2 separate regions of the Homo sapiens genome follow, and region 1 is linked to region 2. Evidence: promoter capture Hi-C in 16 types of primary human blood cells and fetal thymus (Javierre and others, 2016). All regions are on one chromosome and are shown on one strand. The core of a region is centred on a gene start or on the middle of the fragment in contact, and the rest is flanking DNA. Distances in the headings are between cores, read along the strand shown.

What was found. Contacts are between HindIII fragments. The CHiCAGO score rates a contact against its expected background, and 5 or more counts as called.
Region 1: a contact is called between the fragment with the promoter of RANGRF here and a fragment that was not itself captured in region 2, in 5 of 17 cell types (total B cells, naive CD4 T cells, M0 macrophages and 2 more). The highest score is 6.9, in total B cells.

Annotation. Positions count from the first base shown.
Region 1 is chr17:8,283,680-8,290,051 of GRCh38, forward strand. It overlaps RANGRF (RAN guanine nucleotide release factor), which reads left to right and starts at 4,991. Exons shown (of 5, transcript NM_016492.5): 1 at 4,991-5,186; 2 at 5,277-5,393; 3 at 5,579-5,735; 4 at 5,824-5,909; 5 at 6,134-6,372. The coding sequence starts at 5,110. The coding sequence ends at 6,257. It also overlaps a transcript of SLC25A35 not described here. RefSeq lists enhancers at 621-1,121, 1,122-1,622, 4,654-4,883, 5,244-5,363, 5,644-5,713 and a silencer at 5,444-5,493. The HindIII fragment of the contact is 37,216 bases long and covers 1-6,372 here.
Region 2 is chr17:8,182,241-8,188,131 of GRCh38, forward strand. TRW-CCA3-3 (tRNA-Trp (anticodon CCA) 3-3) reads left to right here and starts at 4,118; the gene lies at 4,118-4,189. TRS-GCT4-3 (tRNA-Ser (anticodon GCT) 4-3) reads left to right here and starts at 4,626; the gene lies at 4,626-4,707. It overlaps MIR4521 (microRNA 4521), which reads left to right and starts at 4,705; the gene lies at 4,705-4,764. It overlaps TRT-AGT1-1 (tRNA-Thr (anticodon AGT) 1-1), which reads left to right and starts at 4,920; the gene lies at 4,920-4,993. It also overlaps TRI-AAT5-5 and LOC105371520. RefSeq lists silencers at 4,099-4,148, 4,649-4,698, 4,949-5,058 and an enhancer at 4,379-4,488. The HindIII fragment of the contact is 1,505 bases long and covers 3,831-5,335 here.

The DNA.
Region 1 (6,372 bases), core at 3,741-6,240, 100 kb after region 2:
TCCTAAAGCCTAGTACAGGGCTAAATACACAAAATACTTCATAGCTGGGTTTCTTAGTCTTTAGTCAATGAGCTTGGATAAAAATTTCATCTTTCTTTTTCCTTTTTTTTTTTTTGAGACGGAGTTTAGCTCTTGTCGCCCAGGCTATGATATTTTGAGACAGGGTCTCCCTCTGTCACCCAGGCTAGAGTGCAGTGGCATCTCGGCTCACCGCAGCCTCAACCTCCCGGCTCAAGCCATCCTCCCACCTCAGCCTCCCAAGTAGCTGATACTACAGGTGTGTACCACCACTCCTGGCTCTTTTTTTTTTTTTTTTTTTTGAGACAGGGTCTCCCTCTGTCACACAGGCTGGAGTGCAGTGGCATGATGTCGACTCACTGCAGCCTCAAGCTCCCAGGCTGAAGCAATCCTCCCGCCTCAGCCTCCCCAGTAGCTGGGAGGTGCGAGTCACTATGCCCAGCTAATTTTTGTATTTTTTTGGTAGAGTTGGTGTTCTGCCATGTTGCGCAGCCTAGTCTCGAACTTCTGGGCTCAAGCAGTCCTCCCTCCTGGGCCTCCTACGGTGTTAGGATCACAGGGGTGAGCCACTGCGTACAGCCATGTTTTCAGTAACCTTTTAACTGAAATTTAGCATTTCCTTTCACTGTGAATTTAGGTAACAAACCACAGTAGTATTAGCAGTATCTGTGGTTTCATCTCAATAGCAGTTACAGATATGCTTACTTTAGAATGGCTGTGGATATCTTGAACCATAATTTGTATGCATTGCTAGTTTTTTATTACATTTATTAGAGACTGCTGCTAGATCTAGTTAATATGATAACAAAGAAGTAGACTTGTACTCTATCAAATATCTGGGTTTAATTTTCTTTTTTATTTTTTGAGAAACAGTCTGGCTCTGTTGACCAGGCTGGAGTGCAATGGCGTGATCTTGGCTCATTACAACCTCTGCCTCCCAGGCTCAAGTCATCCTCCCACCTTGGCCTCCCAAGTAGCTGGCACTACAGGCATATGCCACCATGCCTGGCTAATTTTTTTTTTTTTTTTTGGTAATAGAGACAGAGTCTCACTTTGTTTTCCAGGCTGGTCTCAAACTCCTGAGCTCAAGCAATCTGCCCACCTAGGCCTCTCAAAGTGCTAGGATTACAGGCGTGAGCCACCGCACCTGGCCCATGCCTGTAATCTCTTTGAGAGTCCAAGGTGGGAGGATGGCTTAAGCCCAGGAGGTTGAGGCTGCAGTGAGCTGTTATCATGCCACTGCACTCCAGCCTGGGTGACAGAATAAGACCCTGTCTCAAAAACACAGAAAAAATAAAAATAATAACATTACACCGAATAGGGGATCATGGGCTTCACAAAACTGCCAAAGCAGTCCACAGTAGAAAAAAGGACGAAAACCCCTGCTTAATAGAAATATTCATTGTCCTAACTCAAAGGAATGCTTGACTTTGGGTGTGGTGTTGTCTCTCTGATCTGAGTCCATCTCTTGGTGCCCTAAAGGGGAGAGTCTCTGGGACTCTTGTCCCCATAGCAAACAACTGCATCAACTGCATGCAGGGCATTGGATAAGGGAATGTCCCAGGTGTAGAGAATCAATCAGTTGCAGGCCTACTTGCAACCAGTGGGCTGACAGCGAGCCATACCCTCACATTCGCCTGAGAAAAGTGGCTGCTGGCCTTCTCTCTACTGAGATTTGTCCCCTGATACTTATCATCCTAGCCACAGCCAGCTGGACCAGAGATCTCCCTTGTGTTTGGGTGGTGGCCTGAGGAGTGGCCAGGCAGGAGAGCCGGCCAAATAGGTACTTTCAGATTGAATAACAACTAATCGACCCAGTTGGATCCTGTCCCTTGGGAAGTTGGAATTTGAACACTTGAGGGAGTCGACAGGTGGCAGGGCCAGCAGAATTGACAGGCACACAAAAAAAAAGGTGAAGGGAGAAGGGGAAGTGGAGCCAAGCGTGGGGATTTGCCAAGTGAGGGTGGCCTTCCACCCCATTCATTCAGAGGAGGTCTGGCTGAGCAGCCCCCAAGAGCCCACAGAATTGTGGAGGGCCAGGGGTCCCCAGCTGCGTAGGGCTCATGGGAGAACATGAGACAGGCCAGACACCCAAAATGAGGAAGTTGGGGGGGCTTTTTTCTCAGCCTTCCTGACCTGGCGTGACCTCCTCTGGGCCCATGTAACAGGCCTCCACACCCCCTTATGCCTGGTGCAGGCACCCTGTTAACTTCTATGTCCCTGTAGGTCCCTTTCCAAGGACTCTACCTGCTTGACTGCTCCCAAAGCAGCCAGAGCCAGTATTGCCCCTGGTGGGGAATGGAGCTGGAGAGCAGGCTGGCAGCAAGGAGGAGAGAGGGACAGAGAGGTCTGTCACTCATTATCCCAGAGAAGCATCATGGGGTGGACTCCTCTGACCTGGCTCCTTTTGTTTCCCATGGCTGGGGTCCTTCTTTCCCTCTAGAGCCTGTAACGCCCCCGCTCTGTCAAATTCCTCATACAGCAAACTTATTCTACTCTCTTTACCCAGAAATAGGTCAGACTCAACTACATCCATATCTGATTTCTTCCTTTGTTTTTTTTTTTTTTTGTATGTTTAGTAGAGACAGGGTTTGACCATGTTGGCCAGGCTGGTCTAGAACTCCTGATCTCAGGTGATCCACCCACCTGGGCCTCCCAAAGTGCTGGGATTACAGGTGTGAGCCACGGCGCCTGGCCCCCCAACAGCATTTTAGAGATGAGGAAATGAGACTCAGAGAGGAGTCTGATGGCTATAGTAAGAAATGAGGAGTCAAGCTCCTTAGTGTGCGCTACAAAAACCCTGCACACCTGACTGTGTTTGCAGCTCCCTGCCACCCATTCCCATCCTACCCTCCCTTGCCAAACAGATACACTTGCTTTCTCCAAAATATGCCCTCTCATCTCCAAGTTTTTGCTCCTGATGTTCCCCCAGCTAGAATACCCCTAGGATGTCCTACTGAATTCTGAGTCAAACTTTAAGACTCAAAGTATGGGCCAGGCATGGTGGCGCATGCCTATAATCCCATCACTTTGGGAGGCCAAGGCAGGAGGATCACTTGAGACCAGAAGTCCGAGACCAGCCTGGGCAACACAGTGAGACTCCATCCCTAAAATAAAACACACACACACACACAAAAATTACCGGAGCATGGTGGTGCATGCCTGTAGTCCCAGCTACTCAGGAGGCTGAGGCAGGAGGATGGCTTGAGCCCACAAGGTTGAGGCTGCAGTGAGCTACGACTGCACCACTACAGTCTAGTCTTGGCAACAGTGAGACCGCCTCTCAAAAAAAAAAACAAAAAAAGACTCAAAGTGTGCTCCACTGTTCCTTCAGTGAGGCATCGGGGGCTGTGTCCTAAATGTCTTTGTATCTCCAGCCCTTCACATTAGGGCCTGGCAAGGTAAGAGACCAATAAATATGTACCCTTTGGCTTCATTTCACTAAGTCATTAGGGTCCAGAGGTATGGTCAGCACTTGGAACCCTGTGGAATGGCCTCAAGATCAGAGTCCTCTTGCCCAATTCTTGGCTGGGAAGTAGGTGACATCTAGAATCCATGAGGGTATGGGTGATCTCCTGGGTTCCAGACATTTGCATTGAGTTTATTCAATCACTTAACAATATATATTAGGTCTGGGCTGGGCACGCTGGCTCACGCCTGTAATAATCCCAGCACTTTGGGAGGCCAAGGCAGGCGGATCATCTGAGGTCGGAAGTTCGAGACTCACCTGACCAACATGGAGAAACTCCATCTCTACTAAAAATACAAAATTAGCTGGGTGTGGTGGTGCATGCCTGTAATCCAGCTACTTGGGAGGTTGGGGCAGGAGAACAGCTTGAACCCAGGAGGCGGAGGTTGCAGTGAGCCAAGATCATGCCATTGCACTCCAGCCTGGGCAACAAGAGTGAAACTCCATCTCAAAAACAAAACAAAACAAAAAAACCCAATATATATCAGGTCTGTTATGCTCTAAACACCGTGCCGGGTGCTGAGGATCAAAGATGAATAGAGAAATGAACTGAAATGATATAGTGAAGTTAAAACTTAAAGAACACAACAAATCTGTAAAAGACAAACAAAAGAGGGTTTAATCTGTGCTTCTGTCCAGGTGTGTGGAGCTGGGGGTGGGGTTGCACCTGCCCGGGAGCATTCCCAAGGCAAATATTTGAGAGGAATTAGATTTCTAATACCCAGGTTGGCTCTCACTTTCAGGAAGATGTGAGACCTGAATCCTAACCTGGACGCATTGTTCCCCTAATTCCCAGCAGCAGATCTATGAATTAGCGGTCTGGGTGGCAGCCCATTCTTCTTTCAGAGGCCCAGAACACCGTGAAACTATGCTTTCCTGACTCAAGAGACCCTACCTAGACGTGGGCCCCTTTGACGAGCACCTGCCCCTCAGGAGGGTCTCAGGCGACCTTCTTGGAAGGTGTGACCACTTGAAAAGGACGAGGAGGCCAGGCGCTGTGGCTCTCGCCTGTAATTCCAGCACTTAGGGAGCCGAGGCGGGAGGATCGCTTGAGTCCAGGAGTTTGAGGCCAGCCTGGGCAAGATTGGGAGACACTCCCCACCCCGCCCCATTTCTACAAGTAATTAAAAATTTAGCCGGGCGTGGTGGCGGGAGCAGGAGCCACTCAAGAGGCTGAGGCAGGAGTATCACTTGAGTCCTGGAGGTGGAGACTGCAGTGAGCGGTGATCGCGCCACTGCATTACAGCCTGGGCGACACAGCGAGACCTGTCAATCAATCAATCAATCAATCAATCAAGAGGAGGCTGGCGGGAGCATGCTCGTGACCACCGGGGGCGACATAGACCCTAACCCTAAGTCCAACCCCAAGGCAGACCCCACCGTCCCGCCAGGCGCACTCCTAAGAGCGCGGCTTCCGGAGCAAAGCCGCTGACCCCCGCCCCCAGGGTCTTGGCGCCGATTGGCCAACGAGAGCGCAGGGCGGAGCCAAATCTTAAAGGATCCGGGAGCTAAGCCAGACCCGGGTGGCGGTGGCAGCTGCGAAACCCAGGGAGCCGATGCCACGTGACCCAATGTGGACTTCTTTTAAACCTTTCTAATGCCCATAACCCAGCCTCAGACCCATGGAGCCCACGAGAGACTGCCCGCTGTTCGGGGGCGCCTTTTCCGCCATCCTCCCCATGGGGGCCATTGACGTAAGGTGAGAAGGCCGGGGCGCCCAGGGGCGGCTGACTGGGTGGGTTGTGGGAAGAGACCGGGGTCAACCAGGGTCTGCCTCGCCTCACTCCAGCGACCTCCGACCGGTCCCGGACAATCAAGAAGTTTTCTGCCATCCCGTGACGGACCAGAGCCTGATAGTGGAACTTCTCGAGCTGCAGGCCCACGTACGGGGCGAAGCGGCTGCGCGGTGAGGGAATGGCCCCCGGCTGGCCAATGGCAGGGGCGGGGTCGGACCAGTGGGCGGGGCCCGCGGCCGACGGTTAATCCGGGCGGTGAGACCACGCACGGGCCGGGAGCCAGGCCTGCAACTTAAAGATGCTCCCGGGGAGGCGACCAGAGATGTCCCTTCCTGACCCCGCTTCCCTACTCCAGGTACCACTTTGAGGATGTTGGTGGCGTGCAGGGGGCTAGGGCTGTCCATGTGGAGTCTGTTCAGCCTCTCAGTTTGGAGAACCTGGCCCTGAGGGGCCGCTGTCAAGAAGCCTGGGTCCTCTCTGGCAAGCAGCAGATAGCTAAGGAAAACCAGCAGGTGAGGGCCCGAGAGTGTGTAATGTCCTGGAAGGGCGGTAGCGGGGACGCAGAGATCCAGGTAAGCATCCTGACTCTGATCCCCTTAGGTAGCAAAGGACGTGACACTTCATCAGGCCTTGCTGAGGCTGCCCCAGTACCAGACTGATCTCTTGCTTACCTTCAATCAGCCCCCGTAAGGAGGAAGGAACGGGCGGGTATCTCATGACTGGGTTCCCAGGAGAATCGGGCTGGGAGGGACAGAACAGGGAGACTCACTGGTGGGATCCTCCAAGGAAGCAGGAGTGGGCCAGAGGTTTGGGGTAACTGATACCCAGGTCCTCTGGGGAACAGGAATTGGCAATTTCCAAACCTCAGGCCTGGATGATGTTCTGTCTCCATCTGTTCCCCCACCCCAAGCCCTGACAACAGGTCATCTCTTGGCCCCGAAAATCTGTCACCTGCACCCTGGAGCCTGGGTGACTTTGAACAGCTGGTGACCAGTCTGACCCTTCACGATCCTAACATCTTTGGTCCCCAGTAAAGGCGCTGAAGCACTGCATGATGTTGCTGAGAACTTGGGGACTCGGTTCTGTGAGGGGGAAAAGAGGTTGAAAAGAGGGTTTCCTCTTATTTCTTCCCTGTGCGTAAACATAAGA
Region 2 (5,891 bases), core at 3,333-5,832:
TAAAGAAAATAGCCGGGTGCGGTGGCTCATGCCTGTAATCCCAGCACTTTGGGAGGCCGAGGTGGGCAGATCACGAGGTCAGGAGTTCGAGACCCTGGCCAACATGGTGAAACCCAGTCACTACTAAAAATACAAATATTAGCTGCATGGTGGCAGGTGCCTGTAATCCCAGCTAATCGGGAGGCTGAGGCAGCAGAATCATTTGAACCTGAGAGGTGGAGGTTGCAGTGAGCTGAGATCGTGCCATTGCACTGCAACCTGGGTGACAGGGCAAGACTCCTTCAAAAAGAGGGGAGGGGAGGGGAGGGGGAAAGGTGAGGGAGTGGGGAGAGGGAAGGATGGGGGAGCCGAGGGGAGGGGAGATAATGAACACTTCTATTCTGCTTCAACAATTATCAACACATGGCCAACTTTGTTTCAGGTATACCCTCCCTCATGGCACACACCAGGTTATTTTGAAGCAAATCCTAGACGTCATCAAACAGTTCAAATTGCCCAAGTGTCTCCTACACACTTCTTTTTTCTTTTACAGTTTGTTTGAATCTGGGTCCAAATAAAGTCCACACATTGCACCTGGTTGTCATGTCTCGCTCATCTTGGGTCCTGCCTCCTCTCTACCCCCTCACCTCCTTTCTCCTTCTTTTCTTTTCTTGCAATTTATCAGTTGAAGGCATTGAGCCATTTCTGGGCCTTATTCTTGTGATGTGATTTAACATGTTCCTCCATGCCCTGCATGTCCTGTAAACTGGTTCTTAGATCCAGTGGTTGGTTAGTCTCACGTTCAGTTTTCTGGTAAAAACACATCATGAGTGACGGTTTGTTCTCCTGATTCCATTGCATCAGGACGCCTGCTTTTCCCTGTTTTTCTAGTGTTTAGGCTGAGCATTGGGTTCAGGTGTAGTCAGACTAGGCAACAATTATAAAATTCCCCGTCCGTTTTTCACCTAATGGTTTAGTTGATCATCACTGCCTAGCTCTATTATTTCATTAGGAGTTGCAAAATTGGGATGTCCTAATTCTGTCATTCTGCAGTAAGAACTTGCCATCATCAATTTGTTTACCATGAGATACAGGTCATACAGGAAAGGCAGGATAAATGTGTGGGTTTTTTCTTATGATTTACCAGTTTTCAGAAAAATGAGTTGGTTCTCTAGCATCTTGAAAAAGTAATTAGTTGTTTTTAATATCATTATGAACTTGTACATTTTAACATCTTTTGTGTATTTCAATCCATTGCAGTTATTCTTTTTGATGTTCAAATTGTCCCAATTTTGGTCGGTGGGAGCTTCTTCTGGTTGGTGCCTAAGCTTGCTTTCTTTCTTTTTTTTTGAGACGGAGTTTCGCTCTTGTTGCCCAGGCTGGAGTGCAATGGCGCGATCTCGGCTCACCGCAACCTCCGCCTCCCGAGTTCAAGAGATTCTCCTGCCTCAGCCTCCCGAGTAGCTGGAATTACAGGCATGCGCCACCACACCCGGCTAATTTTGTATGTTTAGTAGAAACAGGGTTTCTACATGTTGGTCAGGCTGGTCTAGAACTCCCGACGTCAGGTGATCCACCCGCCTCGGCCTCCCAAAGTGCTGGGATTACAGGCGTGAGCCACCATGCCCGGCTCCGTCTCCTCCTCCTCCTCCTCTTCTTCCAGACAGAGCCAGACTCCATCTCAAAAAAAAAAAAAAAAAAAAGAAAAAGACGATTATCTGACTATTCGGGTGGCAGGGAGATTAGAGAGGAGCCTGCTACAACAATCCAGCAAGAGAGGCTGAGGGGTTGTCAGTGGGATGGGGAAGGATGGTTGACAGGGGGATTATTGAGGAAATGGAATTGACAGGATGTGGTGACTGGAAGTAAGACGGTAGGGGGAGGGAAGAATCAAGGATGCATCCCCCAGCCTGGGCCTGGCCACTCTCTGGGAGTGCAGAAAGACTGGAAGGAAGTATGGCAGGGTCAAGTGAAGGTATCAGCAGGCACTACACATCTGAGTCCAGAGGTGGGAGCGAGATTCAGGAGCCCTTAGCAAGCAGGAAATAGCTGAATCCGTAGAACATGTGTAGCATGAGGAGAGAAAACCTCACCCGAGGAAAACCAGGATTTACAGGGAGAACAGAAAAAGAGATTGGAGCTGGGCGCGGTGGCTCACGCCTGTAATCCCAGCCCTTTGGGAGCTCGAGGCGGGTGGATCATCTGAGGTCAGCAATTCGAGACCAGCCTCTCCAACATGGTGAATCCCGGTCTCTACTTTAAAAAAAAAAAATTAAATTAACCGGCACCACGCCTGTAATCCCAGCTACTCGGGAGGTTGAGGAAGGAAAATCGCTTGAACCCGGGAGGCAGAGGTTGCGGCGAGCGAGAACGCGCCACACAGCACTCCAGCCTGGGCGACAGAGTGAGACTCCGTTTCAAAAAAATTTATAAAAGAAAAAAGAAAAAGAGACTGGAGCGGGGAGCCAGTTAGGAAGGGCCAGCAGACTAGTGTCAAGACAACCATGGGAAATGAGGCTCATGGAGAAGATGTTGCCTGGAGTCGGTTAAGGCCAGGCCTGAGAAAGCCTGTTGGCTTTGACATCTCTGTGGTCCCTGATAACTTTCGAGAGAGCCACTGTGTAGAAATTTGGCTTGGATGGAAAGGAATGAGATACAGGCAGGACCTCTTGTGCCATCTCGGCCTATTGAACTCCTTTCATTCTTCTAGAAACAGCCGGGCGCGGTGGTTCACGCCTGTAATCCCAGCACTTTGCGGGGCCGAGGAGGGCGGATCACGAGATCAGGAGTTGAAGACCAGCCTGGCCAACATGGTGAAACCCTGTCACCACCAAAAATACAAAAATTATAGCTGGGCGCGGTGGTGGGCGCTGTAATCCCAGCTACTCGGGAGGCTGAGGCAGACTTGCTTGAATCCGGGAGGCGGAGGTTGCAGTGAGCCAAGGTCGCGCCGCCGCACTCCAGCCTGGACGACAGAGTGAGACTCCGTCTCAAAAAAACAAAACAAAACAAAACAAAACAAAAACAGAAAAACAACAACAAAAAACTTATGTTGGCCGGGCATGGTGGCTCACGCCTGTAATCCCAGCACTTTGGGAGGCCGAGGCGGGCGGATCACCTGACGTCGGGAGTTCGAGACCAGCCTGACCAACATGTAGAAACCCTGTTTCTACTAAACATACAAAATTAGCCGGGCATGGTGGCGCATGCCTGTAATCCCAGCTACTCGGGAGGCTGAGGCAGGAGAATCTCTTGAACTCGGGAGGCGGAGGTTGCGGTGAGCCGAGATCGCGCCATTGCACTCCAGCCTGGGCAACAAGAGCGAAACTCCGTCTCAAAAAAAAAAAAAAAAAAAAAAAAAAAAAAGAAATACTGATGTTTGTGGTGGTTAAAATTAGAACAGAGATTGCCTCTGGCAAGGGAGGAGTGGGGATCCGTAGAGAAGGGACAGACATGCAAGAACCTTGAGAGAGGGAAATGTCCTATATGCTTTTAAAGAGTTGTGATTTGCGCAGGTGTATGTATTTGTCAAAACTCATCAAAATATAGACAAAATTTATCTGCCCTCCAACAGTTGAAATACCGATATTTTTCAAAAGTTTTACATACCGATCTCAGAGCTCTTCCCTGGGCCGTTTAAATCAGAATCTCCGAACCCGGGGGTTGTGCGTGGGTACATTCGAAGTCTCCGCAGGCAATTACAAAAGTGCAACCGGGGAGGAGACCTGCTGCTGGGGGAGCAAATCTCTTACCACTTCAGGTGCCCTAGGCTCTGGCACTGCTCTGTCACGTTCCGTCTGGTTCCCATCCTTCCATCCGTTTCTAGGCAGGTCCGTCCCCACTGGGCTGTAAGCTTTGGGATCCCCTGGCGATCAGCTCGGGACCCTCTATCTGGGCGTTGGCAGGACGCCGGGGGCCGGGAGGGACAGACCGCTAAGCCTGGATCCCATAGTCACTGCCCTGGGGTGCCACTCGCCCGGCTCGTCCTACAGGGCTGGCTCGGCGAGCGCAGATACGACCCCGCAGCTGTTCAGAGGGGCAGAAATGCCCTAGGTGCCCATCCATGCCTCGATTCATGACCCTGGCCTCCAGGGCGCACAGTGGTCATGGGGAGACCTGAGCTGCCGAGTGGCCGGCCGACCTCGTGGCGCAACGGTAGCGCGTCTGACTCCAGATCAGAAGGTTGCGTGTTCAAATCACGTCGGGGTCAGCGGCTATTTTTCTTCGGTTTTTATTAACCCCCTTTATTTTAAACTACGGTCGAGCTTCAGCGTTCAGGTCATTGAAGAAGCAATATCTCCTTGGGGCCTGAAGGAGAGGGGTTTCTGGAAGTTCCAAGGCCGCCCCGTCTGGACAGCCCAACCATCGCGCGGGGATTTTTGCGATGGATCCGGGTACCGTAATTCTGGGCGGATAACGCGGGTCCTAAGACAGGAGCAGTTCTAGACCTCTCAGCAGAGGGACGAGGGTCGGGCCATCACGCATGGAAGAAGTCGGTCTCTGATCTACGAGTTCTCTTTCCAGTGCCGAGCGGATTCCTTCCAAATGTGCAGCCTTCACGACGTAGGCGAGCCCCACCTGCAGGAAGTTCAGGTTCCAGAGAAGTGAGATGCGGAGGGCAGTCTGAACAGCGAGGGCTGTCTGCAGACGAGGTGGCCGAGTGGTTAAGGCGATGGACTGCTAATCCATTGTGCTCTGCACGCGTGGGTTCGAATCCCATCCTCGTCGGCTAAGGAAGTCCTGTGCTCAGTTTTGTAGCATCAAAACTAGGATTTCTCTTGTTACCCCCAGTCACTCCATTCAGTTTTCGTGTCTTTCCCAGCTGCATCCATCCTTTCCTCATTTTCGTATGCAGCCGACTTTTTGTGACATCTTTGTATTCATTCTCTGCAATTCAGCTGACCTGGCCAAGGAAACAAGATCCTAAGCGTCTTTCCGGCGGCGCCGTGGCTTAGTTGGTTAAAGCGCCTGTCTAGTAAACAGGAGATCCTGGGTTCGAATCCCAGCGGTGCCTCCGTGTTTCCCCCACGCTTTTGCCAACATTAAACATTGTGAGGACAGTTGCAGAAACTCATAACTTCCATCCTACATGGTTTACTCACGTACCCATCTATCCTCTCCCGGTGCATCTGCCACACGCTGTTGGGTTTTTGCTCTTCGTGCACATGGTACTTGCGCCTCGACCTGCAGTTACACCAGTCGCATCATCTGTACTTGCCAGTACTGTCTGTTACTCGTCTAGGTGCTCAGTTAGTCAGTGTTTGTGTTCTGTTTTCATTTCTCATAAAGCAGTCCCACAACTGAAGGTTTTTCCCGAGAGAACTGAACAGTATTGTAACTAAATAGATTTATTTCAAGCTTTTCGTAGCAACTGGCCGGTTAGCTCAGTTGGTTAGAGCGTGGTGCTAATAACGCCAAGGTCGCGGGTTCGATCCCCGTACGGGCCAGGATTGAAACTTTTCGAAAGTACGATTACTGCACTCCGTTTTAGAGCCAAGTAACGTCTCTGGGGAAAAACAGCGCCACATTTCCAATCCCAGAACAGGGAGCGTATTGGAGCGCATTCTAAAGTGGGCGTGTCTTGAGAGGAAGGGATTGAGAGAAACCGGGGTTGTTTCGTGATCTTTGCTTCTACATCTTATGGCCACAATATATGGCTCCTGAACTTACTGTGTGAACTGTAAACAAAAGGCTTTGGGACAAATTTGTCTCAAACCACGTGGCACTGATCTGCAGAGTGTGGGAAATGGTCAGGAATAGAGCTGACAAGTGTTCCCAGTCTTCCCCCAGAGGTAAGATGTCCGTCCAATCCACCCAGCCCCTGCCTATTCATGAGGACCTGAGAAGACAATTTCTTCCCCTTCTCTTCTAGAGCATCTTTTTTACGTTTCTGTGGTTACCGGATCTCTGGG